Regions from separate parts of the Homo sapiens genome. Here region 2 is linked to region 1. Evidence: promoter capture Hi-C in 16 types of primary human blood cells and fetal thymus (Javierre and others, 2016). All regions are on one chromosome and are shown on one strand. The core of a region is centred on a gene start or on the middle of the fragment in contact, and the rest is flanking DNA. Distances in the headings are between cores, read along the strand shown.

Region 1 (7,840 bases), core at 2,869-5,368:
GGAATGGTGATCTTGACTGTTTCTCTTGTTCCATGTAAATGATAATGCCTCCCACATCATAAGGAGCACAGCACACTTGATCCCTAAGGGGCAAAGAGTCATCAAAATAGGAGAACCTTTCCAGTTCTCCAGAGGGGCTTTCAGAAGACCAAGGTGGTGCTTGGGCAAAATTGTGAGTAATAATCACCTTACCATGTAGCAATTGGTAAAAAGCTTATAACATACTTTTCTCATGAAATACTCAACATCACTTGAAGTAGGTAGTGTTGGGGTCCTTACTTTACAAATAGGACACAGGCAGAAAGAGGTCAAGTGTCTGGTCTGAGATCCCACATCTAGAAAGTGGCCACGTGAGCCACACCAATCTATGATGCTTTATTCCCATTTAGGCTGCCTCTTCCATCCTGTGCTTACTCAAAGTGCCTGAGGCTCTCCATTTTCCCTTTACCGCTGAAAAGGATCCGATATCAGTCACATGCAACTAAGTATGCTGTTTAGTTGGTGGCTACCTCTCCAAGGATCATTTGTACTTAGGCTTGCCGACGGTGTGCTGGACTCGGCTTGTACTGGCCCGAGGTAGCTAATTGTTAAGTTTTCAGGAATCTGTGAGCCAGCAGACATCACATTGGTAGTTTAAAATGGGCCATGATGGGAATATTTACACCAAAGGAATTGGCAAACACTATGAATCAGGGCTCTCCAACAAGCCCTGTACTCGGATTCCTAAGCATTTACCAGGACATCCATGTGCCCTTATCTCTCATTGTCCTCTGTCATAGAATTTCAGGCATCAGGGACAACTTGGAAAAAAATTGACAGGCACAGGAGAGCCTCTGAAATCATGTCTGTCTGCAAGCTACCACCTGCCAAATCTATGCTTCTTTCTGGCCCACTGCTCCAGCAAGATGAAGGCGCTTCTTGGCCCCTCTGAAAACACTTGCACATCTCAACAGGAAAAACAGGCATCGAACACCAGAACTAAAACCATGTTAAAGTAAAACCTCAATCAATTAGTATTATAATGACAATAGGCATGATTTTTTAGGTTAGAATAAACATACTTGATTTCTAGAATTACAGAATATGTTCTTGAGTATGTAGAAGGGTTATTTTTCATATGGTGTTATAAATTCATAGAATATGAGAACTGCAAGAATCATAATTTTACACATGAGAAAAGAGAAAAAGAAGCTCTGACACCCGACACCCTAAGAGGGGCAATAACTGGCCAAACAGCTCATAATGCATGTATATCTACCCCACAAAACTTATATTTAGCCACAGAATAGAAGGAATCCAGGACCCTGATCTTAGCTTGACTTTGAAGAATCCTTGAATATCTCCCATAATTTGAAAATGAATTGTTATGACAGCCTGCTAGCTTCTGTAGAGACATGAAAGGGATACAAATAATGGTTAATTTTTACTAGATGCTTACCAGATGACAGGGCCTATGCTAAGTACCTAATATATTAAGTTGAATTGTTTGAAACTTCTAATATCTGATATTCGATCTGCCAAATAATTTCAAAAAGTTCAGCCTAAAGACATTATACCTCTGAGTCTTTGCCATCTTCCTATGAAATGGGTACTATTATCACACCCATTTTACAGATTGAAAATGAAGCCTTTAATTTAAAAATGAAAATGTTCTTCCCATAAGTGTAATGTTATTTACTTATGAGTAATATTAATGCAGCCTTGTGTGCAAATTGGTGGCCTGAAACCATGTAGTATACCTAAGACATGAACAATAATAATTCACATATATTACCTTTTTCAGGGAACTTGGATAAATTTCTAATTAATAAACTTCTATAATAATTAAATAATTAAAGAAATACTTTTAAAATGTTATTTATAAGAGTAAAAAAGGCATTAGAAAACAAGAAATTTGATGTTTGGACATGTATTCTCTATATCTCACATGGAAGAATTAGAAACTGTAGCCTAGGGCTCCCCAGAATGAAGTAATTGTCTTGAAATTTTCCATAATGCTCAGATAAAGAAGTAGGGTGATTTTACAACCTTGTCTACATGCAAATTATGACCAATAATATTCTGAATTAAGGCCATCTGGTTTTGTGATTACTTACAAATAATATTGAGCTGAATTCACAATCAGTTCACAAATAGCAGTTGGGCTAAGGAATTATTAATACTAACTAAATGAGATGATACTATGTTGAATCAGAAAAACGAACTGGTGAAAACTGCAAAATGGACTTTGAAAAAAATATTTAAAGGTACATGACTGTTCTTTCAATATGAAACAAAAACTTTAAATGTTCCATTCACAAAAAAGCATTGAGTAATGCCATGCGATTTATTAGCTCTACATGATAAATCCCCCAAGTTCACAAACTGGGCTCCTGGCCACCTAGCAAAGAGGACTTGCACGTAATTCCATGTGTTTTCTGATTGACTGGTAAATTGTTATCAGTAAGAGTCTGATAATAAGACAAGCAATTCTTTTCACTTCTAAAGAGGCAGAGCTATTTCGCCTGCAACTTTTTTGTTTTCTGTATTTTTTTAATTCACAAAAGACATGCAACACCTGCAACTTTAAAAAGTGAGGCATCCATAGGCTCTATACCCAGCCTGACCTCCTCTGGAGCTCCATCTCATGAAGTGCTTTAAACCCTGGCACACCAAAGAATCCCAAACTCATGCCACCACCTACTAAGTCAGACTCCAACAAAGAACTGGAGCACTTTTGTTTCTAAGTGACCATCAGGCACCTAATATTATTTTCCCTTCAGTAAAATATAAGTGATAATCCTTGTCCTACCCCACTAATGATGTAAAAATAATATAACCATACAGTAAGAAATCAAACATGCTTTGAAAAATTGCAGCATAGGGCTAAACAAGAGCCACTGCATAAAGCAAAGAAGTTTTGAAGAAGAAAGGGATCTTGAAGGTTGTTATTTCCAGTTTTTTCATTTTATGAAGAAAGAACCTGAAACAGGAGGTAGACATTTGCCCAGACTGGATCACCTACTGAGAAGTAGAGTTTGGTCTCCTGACCCTTTGTCCAATGCTTTTTCTACCAAACTACATTATTAGGATTATTCCTGTTGCTTTTGTTATTAGTGATGTTAAGAAGCACAAGACTATTTTTAGATAAAGAGATAGACTGACCTAGCAAAGCAGCCATACTCCTTCTGGGTAAGAACCGCTGGTCTGCACTGCAGAAACTTTGTTCTTAATAACCCTGGTGTCCTAAGAAGTCTATCAAGAGATGAAGAGGTTTGCCATTGTGCCTTACAACTTTTAGATAATTAAATGCCTGGGAAATCTTATTTCAAGATCAGGCTAGCGACGAGTATTGAGACAAACAGAGTTATTCATGAAAACGTTAACACTGAACCCAAAACTTAACCATTCTAAACACCAGTTTCTTCCACTAAAAAATAAGAAAGCTGGGGTAGATCATCCCATTGAATGCTAGTGTTGTATTAATCTATGTTTCATTAAATTTAGTATGTTTCATTAAATTTAGTATGTTTCATAGAAAGTTCAAGTTTTATCGAATCATAATACTTGCTACCTAAAATGTTATTCATAATTTAAAAACCAAACATAACCTTGCAGGGGGAAAAAGCTGATGAATGTTAAATTTACAGTTTTTAGAACTGAAATCACCTAGCACCACCATTTCACCTCTTGACTGCTCTCTGCATTCTCCTCTGATTACTTTTACTGTACTTTTTATGTTGTTACAATAAGCATGTTTGTGTTTCCTGTGCTCTATTTTATGCTATGTATATATTTTTGCATTAGCCCAGTCCAAACATAAAATGCTATGCGAAAAAAGACAAATGAAACTGCTCACATACCCCATGACGATCTTCAAAGTATGCCAGGCTGGCTTTGGTTAACACAAAGAAGCGGACTTTAAAGTTCGAGGGAGAAGTTCTTCTCTTTTGTTGGGATTTCTTGATGAGCTGTTCTTCCAGGAGGATAAAGTTGTTCATGATCCAGTTCTTGAAAGGTGGTGCACCTTGGGCATCACCTCTTAGCACAACCAAAGGAAAGAGTTTTGGGGCAAAGAATGCAATGTGGAGGCAGTTGATCTTCAGAGAGCTGCTCAAGGGCAACTTGCCTTCAACGTTATCTTTCTATCAACGTTCAGCCAACATAGCTGAGCTTCTCCTCTGATGTCAAAGGCCGAAACCACATCCTTTCAAAATTCACAAAACGAGGAGGCATATGTAAAAAATACATACAGCCTTTGCTAATGGCTTGAAATGATATTTGAAAAACTGTAAACTCAAAATTGTGGTAAGGATTACAGTTTAATCTTTATAGTTCCTGGTTTAATCCATCCAGCAGTTAAATCATGTAGCACAAGGAGTAAGGACAATGTGTGGTTTTGCTTACCATGATATACTCAGCAACCATCACAGTACCTGACACATAAAACAGATGTTCAAGAAAAATTTGTTGAATGGATCATCACCAAATTGGGTTGGACAATTAAAAGAGGTAATGAGCACAAAACCCTCACACATTAAAGTGAAGAAATATGTTGCTGAAGTTTATTAGTTTTTAAGATTTAAATTAAAGCCCATAGAAATTTCTCAATGCTACATATAGATGACTGCCTTTCTGTCCTGACGTTTTGTGGAAGAGTGAAAAATAAGTGAATCCTTCAGAATGGCATAATAAACAAAGTATATGTGGGCTTTGAAAACAGACAAACTTGTGTTGGATTCCCAGCTCTGTCACTTACTATGCTGTTTCTCTTTGAGCAAGCCATGACTTCTCTGATCCTTAGCTTCCTTGTGAGGGTCCTTTGGAGGACTGAATCCCATACATCTTATGAATGGTAGGTGCTAGTCATACATGTCACCTTAGAGTTAGTACATAGTTGAAGTATAATGTGTGACAGTTACCTCTACTATGTTAATAATCAAGAGATTTTAGTGTAAGCAGATATTGCATGTAGTGGGTAGGGATAAATAATAAATGAAATAATAATTATTGCTGTATAGGAGTGAAATTCTCCAATGTTTATTTTTAAATGTAAATTACCAGACAACAGCCTAATTTTATTTCATATACTGGATGCCCCAGCATAATCAAGACACCCAGGAGGGTACGGTACTGGTATATTTTAAATTACCTCCCCCATTCTGAGATTCTTAAGACATATGTGTGGAAATACACTGCCCAAACAAGATAGTATTTTTTTTTTCTGAGTATGGGCTTGAGGTAGGGATTGCTACTATTCCCAAATAGCTACTCTCTCCTTCTTACTAGAGTAACAGAATCCCTGACAGTTATCTGGGCATCTGGCCAGCAAGAATAAAGACTACAAATTTTAGCCTCCCTTGTAGCTAGGTGTAGTTGTATGACTGTCTTCTGGTCAACTGAATGTAGCAGAAGTCGTGTGCACAACTTCTAGGAAATTTCCTTAGTGGGATCTGTCATCCCCTTTTCTTTCCCTTTTCCTCCTGCCTTGTGACTAGAATATTGAGGTAACAGTTGGAGCTGAAGCAGCTATCTAGTATCATGAGGTGGAAATTGAATGTTGAGGACAATGGAGTATAAGATAGAAAGAGCCTGGGACCCTGGTGACCATGGATCTTCCATGCCAGCCCTGGATTACATTTTTTAATATCTATTTTCTAAGTCTCAGTTATTTTGAGGTTTCTGTCACTACCAGCAAACCTAGATAATACAGTGCTATCTTCTCAAACTAGACTACAAACTCCTCTGAGGAAAGTACATTTTACACCTGCTTGGTTCAGATGAAAAGAGTTATAGACTTCACAAAGTGTTCTCATCCGGGAAAACAAAATATCATCAGTAGCTGTTGCAATACTTAGGAGTCTTTCGTTTGCTCAGTCTACATGGAGTGTCATCGTAAGTAATTTTATTCTCTTTCTCATAGAGCCATCAAACCCACTAACTGAGACTCATCTTTGCCAACTTTTAAATGCAAACTTAGGAGGCTCAATATTTTTTTCTCACTTTAAGGAAAACATAAACAAAAACAAATAGTCCCTTTGTTTGTTTTGGTTTTAAAAAGTTCACTTCATAGGAGCCAAATTCAAGGAGTTCCCACTTGCCAAAGATGGAACAATTTGAGTATCAAAAGGAATAATAATTGCCATGAATTGAAGAACAGCAAAAATGTTAAAACAATGAGTTCAAAAGAGAATTGAAAAAAGCATCCCAACCTTTTGATCACTTTTGGAGGATGCTGAAGAACCAACTTGTTTTTCTGAAAACTGGAAACAAAGGAAAAAAATAAAACATATTGCTTGCTTTTCTTGAAGAATTATCTTTCAATTCAGTGATCAAGTATTTAATGAGGAAGTTCTTTTTTTCCAAGAAACTAATCAATGAAGGAGTGACAGAATACTATCGTTTTGCAATGCCAATGAAATAATAAATGTAGGCAATGATCATCAATGGCTGTTAAAATTATTACGCAAAAAGCCAATAGGAAAATGTATAACTGTCATATGAAGCTGACAACACTGTAACACACTGATTAATCTTAAAAGAAGGACAACCAGACATTGTATGTCTCCTGAGGTGAAGCAAGAGGAAGTACACAAAACTGGCAACTCGGGAGTCTTGCCAAGAGAAAACAAAATCAAACACAAATCTAATCAAACTTCGAGATATAAATTCGAGTTTACAGGAAATACAAGAGATAAACGAACCTGACAAATGACACTGTGGAGATGCAATTGGATGAGTCCAGAATACAAAACATGCTAAGGACAAATGACTCAGTATCAGTAACAAATAAGTCATAGAGGGCAGGGCACGGTGGCTCATGCCTGTAAGCCCAGCACTTTGGGAGGTCAAGGGGGTGGATTGCTTGAGCCCAGGAGCTTAAGACCAGCCTGAACAACATGGTGAAACCCTTTTTCTACAAAAAATTAGCCAGGCATGGTGGCACACACCTGTAGTCCCGCCTACTCGGGAGGCTGAAGTGGGAGGATCACTTGAGCCCAGTGGGTGGAGGTTGCAGTGAGCTGGGATTGCAGCACTGTACTCCAGCCTGGGTAACAGAGCCAGACTCTGTCTCAAAAAACAAAAGCAAAACAAAACAACAAATAAATCAAAGGGGGAACCCTTAGATTAAAAGAGACTTTAAGAGACATATGAGCATGTTTGGACTTTGGATTAAGAGTTAAGCAAATCAACTGTATAAAGACGTTATGAGACAATTAGACAAATTTGAATGTTAAAGAGATGTTTGATAATACTGAGAAACTTGTTATTTTTTAAGATGTAATAATGGGCTGGGTGTGGTGGCTCACACCTATAATCCCAGCACTTTGGGAGGCTAAGGTGGGCGGATCACGTGAGGTCAGGAGTTCGAGACCAGCCTGGCCAACATGGTGAAATCCTGTCTCTACTAAAAATACAAAAGTCAGTGGAGTGTCGTGCTGTGTGCCTGTAATTCCAGCTACTTGGGAGACTGAGGCAGGAGAATCGCTTGAACCTGGAGGGCGGAGGTTGCAGTGAGCTGAGATGGTACCACTGCACTCCAGCCTGAGCAACAGAGCAAGACACCATCTCAAAAAAAAAAAAAAAAAAGATGTAATAATGGCACTATTATCATGTTAAAATAGTCCTTATTTTGTATAGAAACATACACTGAATTATTGATAAAACAATAAAATGTTTATGATTTGCTTCATCATAATCCAGTGGAGGGGGAGAAATTGGTAGGGGAAGGGATGAAAACTGTTTGACCATGACTTGATAATTGCTAAAGCTGGCTAATGGGTACATCATTATTCTACTCTCCTTGCACCGATGCACGTTTGAAAATTTCCATAATAAAAAGTTAAGCAAAGAAAAAGGG
Region 2 (7,840 bases), core at 2,402-4,901, 46 kb before region 1:
AAGATCTACATAACACTATTACTTAACTGCAGATCTTATTCAAATTGTATCGGTTGTCCCAATAATGTATATTATAACAAAAAATATTTTTTTGTATGGGTCAAGATCCAGCCCAGGATCACCACTGTATTTAGTTACCATGTGTCTTTAATCTATTACTATTATTTTTTTTGAGATGGAGTTTCGCTCTTGTTGCCCAGGCTGGAGTTCAATGGTGCAATCTTGGCTCACAGCAACCTCTGCCTCCTGGGTTCAAGCAATTCTCCTGCCTCAGCCTCCCAAGTATCTGGGACTACAGGCGTGTGCCATCACACCCGGATAATTCTGTATTTTTAGTAGAGACGGTGGTTTCACCATGTTGGTCAGCCTGGTCTCAAACTCCTGATCTCAGGTGATCCACCTGCCTCAGCCTCCCAAAGTGTTGAGACTACAGGTGTGGGCCACTGCGCCCGACCTCTTTAGTCTTTTTTAATGTGGACCAATTTCTCAGCCTGTTGTGTCTTTCCTGATATTAACATTTTTTTTTGAAGAGCCCAGGACATTAATTTTAGAGAATATTCCCTAATTTGGATTTGTCTAATATATCCTTATGAATATATCCTTATAAGTAAATTTATGTTGTGCATTTTTTGAGCAGGAATATCACAGAAGTGATGTGTGCCCTTCTCAGTGCATCACATAAGGAGACACAAGATACCTTTTTGCTCCATTATTTATGTGCATTTGGATTGACTGTTTCAGACGGGCCTGCTAGTTACCTCCACTTTGTAATTACAAGTGATTTGTGAGGAGATACTTTGAGACTATGTAAATATGCCACAGCTCATCAAACTTTAACTTGCTAGTGGTGACATTCATTGAGGATTCTTGCCTGAATCAGTTGATACTCTGGGTTACAAAATGATGATTTTTAAACTTTATCATTCATTAGTTGGCATTCTACTATAAGAAAAAACCCTTTCCTTTTTATTTATTTACTTCTTTATTTATCTATCAGTCTATCTATTTATTACAGATTCTTATATTATTCAATGGTTTGTAGTCTATTACTTATTTTAATAGTCATTATTTATTTTGATACTCAAATTGTCCCAGATTTCATCAAATGGAGCCTGTTAGAGCCAACTTCTGTGCTCATCTGACACGCCCACATCTTTTTGTCTGGGCACAGCGGTTCATACCTGTGATCCCAGCAGTTTGGGAGGCCATAATGGGAGGATCACTAGAGCCCGGAAGTTAAAGACCAGCCTGGGCAACCTAGTGAGATCCTGTCTCTACAAAAAATTTACAAATTAGCTGGACATGGTGGCATGTGCCTGTAGTTCCAGCTACTTGGGAGGCTGAGGATTGCTTGAGCCCAGTAGGTTGAGGTTGCGATGAGCCGAGATCACACTATTGCACTCCAGCCTGGGTGACAGTGAGACCCTGTCTCAAAAAAAAAAATTAAAGAAGAAAAATTTCTTTTTAAGTACTTCTTTACTTTCTGGCACAAAAAGATGTTCCAAGTTCCTTTTTGTTCTATCCCTACCCCAAGCCTTTTCTCCAGAAAGTCCTGGTTTTTTTAGTGGAAAGCCTTATTTAGGTATCAAGAGCTGGATGGTATGTGTGAACATTGCTGTTGCAGTAGGGATCATCTGGTATTTTTACAGTCAACCAATAATTTATTCCTAACTTAAGGAGGATTCCTTAGGACTGTATTTTCCAAAAACAAATAAAATATCTTACTCATAGGTTTCCAGATTATTTGGAGATTTTTCCACCAGATAACTGCTTGGTACATATCCTTCATGCCTGTTAAAAGGAAAATTAATGTTTAGACTTACATAGAACTAAGTTTTATATCATTTTATAGGTTTAATCCATTAAAAGTCATTTAAAGATTGGGGAATATCACATTATTTGGCATTTGCGATAAGACATTTTAAAGTTTAGAATACAAGAATTGGTAGGCCGGGGGCGGTGGCTCATGCCTGTAATCCCAGCACTTTTGGAGGCCGAGGCAGGTGGATCACGAGGTCAAGAGTTTGAGACCAGCCTGGCCAATATGCTGAAACCCTGTCTCTACTAAAACTACACACACACAAAAAAATTAGCCGGGTGTGGTGGTACATGCCTGTAGTCCCAGCTACTCGGGAGGCTGAGGCACAAGAATCGCTTGAACCCAGGAGGTGGAGGGTGCAGTGAGCCGAGATCGTGCCACTGCTCTCCAGCCTGGGCAACAGAGCGAGACTCTGTCTCAAAAAAAAAAAAAAAAAAAAAAAAAAGGAATTGGTAAAAAATAATAGCAACTTGTCTGTTAAAGGCAGGTTGATTTCACTACTGAAATATGAAACATAATAAAAAAAGAAGTGGCGATTTTACTTAAAAAGCTCTGTTTGCTGTTCTCCTCATTGTGAAATTTCCTCTACTGGAAAAAAAGATTAATATTCAGTGTCTATTTTCTATAAGGAAACATTTTTGTGTGATAATCAACATTTTTTCCACTTTAGTACTATCATTTTATAGTCAGGAAACCAAAATAATTAAAATATAAAAGATGACTTTCCAACCACAGATTCTAAAAGACACTACCAGTTGGCATTGTAAGCTTTTTAATTTAAGGCCTCCCTAATTGAGCTTCTTCAGATATGAACGGTATAAACACGAGAAAAAAAGGATAAAGCCAGGCTAGATTTGGGGATCAGGAGTCACTTTTGAGCAAGAATTAATAATTGTGCATAAACAAAAAACATAATAAACAAAATAAGAATATCAAACTTCTTTACATTTGTGTATAACTTTGTAGTTTTCAAAGCACTTTCACATTCATTATCTCATTTAATACCACAGGGTGAAAGCGGCATCCCTTCTACTCTCTGGACCTCTGACTTTATACCCGTCAAATGAAGGGCTTAAACTATATTATACTTAAAATCTAGTTTAAGTAGATACTCCATACTCTGTCAATCTGTAAAAAGATGACTGATAGGCTGGGTGTGGTGGCTCACACCTGTAATCCTAGTACTTTGGGAGGCTGAGGTGGGTGGATCACTTGAGCTCAGGAGTTTGAGACAAACCTGGGCAACATGGTGAAACCCTGTCTCTAGAAAATATATAAAAATTAGCCAGGTGTGGTGGCATGCACCTGTAGTCTCAGCTACTTGGGAGATTGAGGCATGAGACTCACCTAACCTGGGTGGTGGCGGGTGGGGGCAGTGGTGTGGAGGTTGCCATGAGCTGAGATCGTGCCACTGCACTCTGGCCTGGGTGACAGAGCAAGACTCTGTCTCAAAAAAACAAAAAAACAAAACAAAACAAAAAAAGATGCCTGATAGTTTATTGCTCTTTATTCCATAACATGTTTTAATTTTCTTATAATAAGGCCAATTTTCAATCTAGTGATTATGTTTATGGGAAATGTGTAATCAGTTCAGAGTTGTGAAGAGTGAAGAAATCAAGACTGTAGGTGCCAAATACAGGATGATCATCTTATATTTTACTCCTCTGGCAGACATTGCTAATCAATCATGGCATACTTTCTTTGGAGAATTGGACATCTGCCCTCAGAATCATCCTTCATACAGTGCTCAAGGCAGCCATTCCAACGGAAGAAAGTCAGCTTATTCTGAAATTTGCCATTCCTTCTGTATCACTCTTGGAATTCCCTTAATTATGTCTACTTTTGCCATACTATACTTTTACAATTATATTAATGCATCAAATAATATTTTGCTTTTGAATAGCATATGCCACCCAAAGCTGGGTCATCTACACAAATGGTAACTCTCATAGTTGTATGTGGATATGTAGAATTTCCAAAGCTCTTTCACTTCCATTATCTCATTGATTTTCTCAACACTGTGACGTAGACAAAGCTGACATTATCAGCTGCATTTTACAGTTCACGAAATGGATTCACAGAGGAAAAGTGACTTGGTCATCTGTGAATGACATGGTCACACATATGACATGGTCATCTGTGAATCCTCAGCTTCATATGACAAGAGTAGCTGATAAAGTCCAAGTCCTCTGTCTCCCCATCTTGTGTGCTTTCCACTATACCACACTATCACAAAGCAAACTGGGGAAATTCCCATAATGCTGACTGGCTGCTGGGGTGTCCTCTTTGATGCCCTTTGAAGTGCATAGTTAAGCCTTTCCACAGGTCACCAAATGAAGGGTTTAACTCTCATTTGGGGAAGTAAGGCCTAGGAGAACAAATTTCCTGGTACATTAGGTGTGCTAAGTAAAGTCAGTTGATTGAACTAATGAATTTCTAGGTCCCTTCGGTGTTTGTAGACCCTGTAGACAGTCTTGAACCTATTTCGGATATGGGCCTGTCTATAATGGACAGAGAGAAGGTGATGTGACTAGCTCAATTGTCTTCATGAATCAACTAGAAAGGGAGGTTCCAGACGAGGGGAGTTGGGGTCTGTTCTTAGCTAGCAAACCACACTGCCTCTCAAACCATGGTTCTGAATCTCATCACGTTTTACCCTGTCTCACTTCTGTCTTTCCTCCCCCTGTAATGGGGTTGATAAGCCTACTTAAAGAGAAGGCACCTTGAAAATGTAAATTCTGGTGTATGTAAAAGGTAAAGTCTTATCCTTAAAGATATTTGTGCCCCTCTTTTTTTTTTTTAACCCATCAGATTGACTTTTTTTAAAAGTTCAATGATACCCAGTCTTGGCACTTCCATAACTCTGTTAGCAGGAAGGTAAATTTGGCAAGCTTTGTGAGGAAATTATGTGGCAAAATTAAGATATCACATACTCTGACTTAACTGTTGCACAGTTAGAAATGTGACATATAGGCCAGGTATGGTGGCTTATGCCTGTAATCCCAACTACTTTGGGAGGCTAAAGCGGGAGAATTTCTCGAGTACAGTAGTTTGAGACAAGCCCGGGCAACATAATGAGACCCCATTTCTACAAAAAATTCAAAAATTATCTGGGCATGGTGGTGCGTGCCTATAGTCTCAGCTCTGTAGGGGTCTGAGATGGGAGGATCACTTGAGCCTGAGAGGTCAAGGCTGCAGTGAACTGTGAGAGTGCCACTGTGCTCCAACCTGGGTGACAGAGCAAGACCCTGTCTCAAAAAAAAGAAAAGGAAAACTAATGTGATAAATATATATCATATATATATGTTTGTATTCCAAAGATGGCCAAGATACATGAATACAAGATCTTCATTAAAGCCTTGTTTGAAACAGCAGAGGAAACAAATAAACTGGCAACTAAATGTCTCACCATAAAGGATTATTTAAATACTAATAATACAATCATACATTCTAAGATTGTGCAATTATTATTATTATGATTATTTTTGAGATGGATTCTCATTCTGTCTCCCAGGCTGGAGTGCAGTGGTGTGAGCTTGGCCCACTGCAACCTCCACCTCCCAGGTTCAAGCGATTCTCCTGCCCCAGCCTCCCGAGTAGCTGGAATCACAGGCGCCTGCCACCACACCCAGCTAATTTCTTGTATTTTTAGTAGAGATGGGGTTTCACCATGTTGGCCAGGTTGGTCTTGAACTCCTGACCTCAGGTGATCAGCCCACCTTGGCCTCCCAATCAAAGTGCTGGGATTACAGGCCTGAGCCACTGCGGCCGGCCCATGCAACTATTTTAAAAATGAGGTAGATTTGCATGTGCTGGTATGAAAAGATCTTCAATGTGTATTAATATCATTAAAAATTAAAAGCAAGATGCAGAACAGAATGGATCCACTTGGTACAAGTGAAAAAAGGATGCATTTGCACAGGTATAACTTTTATTTATGATACACAAGAAGGTATTAATAGTGATCACTTTTTTTTTTTTTTTGAGACAGAGTCTTGCTCTGTCGCTCAGGCTAGAGTGAAGTGGCACCATCTTGGCTCACTGCAACCTCTCCCTCCTGGGTTCAAGTGATTTTCATGCTTCAGCCAGTGGAGTAGCTGGGATTACAGGCTTGAGCCACCACACCATGCTAATTTTTGTATTTTTAGTAGAGACAGGGTTTCACCATGTTGGCCAGGCTGGTCTCAAACTCCTGGCCTCAAGTGATGCACTCACCTTGGCCTCCCAAACTGCTGGGATTACAGGCGTGAGCCAGTGCACCCGGCCAAATAGTGATTACTTTTGGACTTGATGTGGGGGCAAATGGAGGGTGGCTTATTTTTTATGTATATTTCTCTCTACTGTTAGTTAAGTAAAATGTTGACATAAATGATCTATATGTTGCAAGGACAGTTTTCTTTTTTATACTTTAAAATTAATAATAACCTCATACCTTGAAAACATTTAAACCCCTAATATTAATATACAAAGATGTTCGTTGCAGTGTTGTTAATATTTGCAAAATATTGGAGATAACCTAAGTGTTCAACAAGGGAATTTGCAATTTAGAGTACATTTATGGCTGGATTGATGCAACTATTGAACTCAGATTCTGGAAAATATTCCAGAGCATGGGTTAATACATCGGATATATTAAGAGGAAAAAAAAACCTTAAAAGGCAGTGTGAATCTCATGCTTGGTATTTTTTTCATTCAAAAGTTGCATAGTGGGAAAGTAGTATTTGTACAACCTTATTTTCTCCCTGAGTCATGTGGATGGCTAGTTCAATGACTGCGATTGTAACTAAATCTTTAGTGTCTTCTTTCTGATGCGTCCTAACATAACTATCAATCTGTACCATCTCTATACACACATTTTCTTTTCACCAAAAATAAGCACTTCCTAATGGGATGTACCTTCAGCCTCACTTAACACTCAGGAACAATAGCACTTTGCAGAACAAATTGCCAAGCTCCCAAATTGTAGATGTCAGTGGAAAAATCCAGGGGGTTTTTTAGATGAGTTTGGGTCTGGAGTGCCTGAGATGGGGTGCAGGGAACAAGCATAGCAAGTGACTGCCTCAGAGCCACTTCTGAGAAGAGGAAAAATGAGCCTCAACTACTTCCTCTTCCTCCCTCTTCCTTCTGCCTCTGCTCTCTTCTCCCACCTCAGTGCTGTGGTTACACTGTGGGAGATAGGACAAATCATCCTGGTATTTTATTTGTTCGCACCACACCTCAAACACGGGGACAGCAGCCACAAAGATGACTTACCCATTCCTGTCCTGGACTCTCCACCAGTGAATCTCAGAACTGTCCAGCAGGCAGTACTCTTCGTTGCGCCGCAGTGCGAGTTCCTGAGGATCATTGGTTTGGTAGTCATATAAGGCAATGACCACAGTTTCTTCAGGTTCCCAAAGTGGTCGCTGGGGAAGAGAGACAACAAAACCAAGCAAAGACATAAAAAAGGAGGTAAAATGCCTCCTTTCATCGGGGTGTCTGGGGAGACAGTCTGCCTTCCTCTGGTAGACTTTCTTTATGAGTTAGAGTTACAGCGCTGAACATGACACAAAGACATCAGTGCTTGGAATTCATCACATTGCTCATTCTATGAGGTAAATTCTGACCACAGTGAATTCCAAGCAGCCACGTGATTTTCACAAAAGTCTGCTGGTTTCTCTATCTGCACTATGTTATATGCAGCAGCCTCTCTGCTGGATGCATCATGCCCTTGGCAAAGGAGATGCAGTCAACATGAAATCTTTCAGTTTGTGCTTTACTAATATGATTTGTGGGTTTATCTAGATCTACGGAATCATAGGTTATTGGAGCTGGAATTCCTCTAACAGATCACTTAATACACTTTTTCATTTAGGATGAGGAAACTGAGGCCCAGATGGAGAAATGGACCTGGCCAATCTACCACTTGAATTAGCCCTAAGACTCTCTCTACTCTAGCACCTGTCTCCCTTCCTTCTCCTGTAGGCTCTATTGCTGATGTCTCTGTTCCTCAGTCCCTTTCTTCATGTCCATATTGAGGAC

Evidence for each region. Contacts are between HindIII fragments. The CHiCAGO score rates a contact against its expected background, and 5 or more counts as called.
Region 2: a contact is called between a fragment that was not itself captured here and the fragment with the promoter of ITK in region 1, in 7 of 17 cell types (non-activated CD4 T cells, activated CD4 T cells, naive CD4 T cells and 4 more). The highest score is 20.5, in non-activated CD4 T cells.

Annotation. Positions count from the first base shown.
Region 1 is chr5:157,177,118-157,184,957 of GRCh38, reverse strand. It overlaps ITK (IL2 inducible T cell kinase), which reads right to left and starts at 4,118. Exons shown (of 17, transcript NM_005546.4): 1 at 3,843-4,118. The coding sequence starts at 3,980. The HindIII fragment of the contact is 39,229 bases long and covers 216-7,840 here.
Region 2 is chr5:157,222,247-157,230,086 of GRCh38, reverse strand. ITK (IL2 inducible T cell kinase) reads right to left here. Exons shown (of 17, transcript NM_005546.4): 6 at 7,073-7,224; 7 at 1,726-1,791. Among named protein-coding and RNA genes, the nearest start is that of CYFIP2, 40 kb to the left of the region's middle. RefSeq lists an enhancer at 7,350-7,409. The HindIII fragment of the contact is 2,123 bases long and covers 2,590-4,712 here.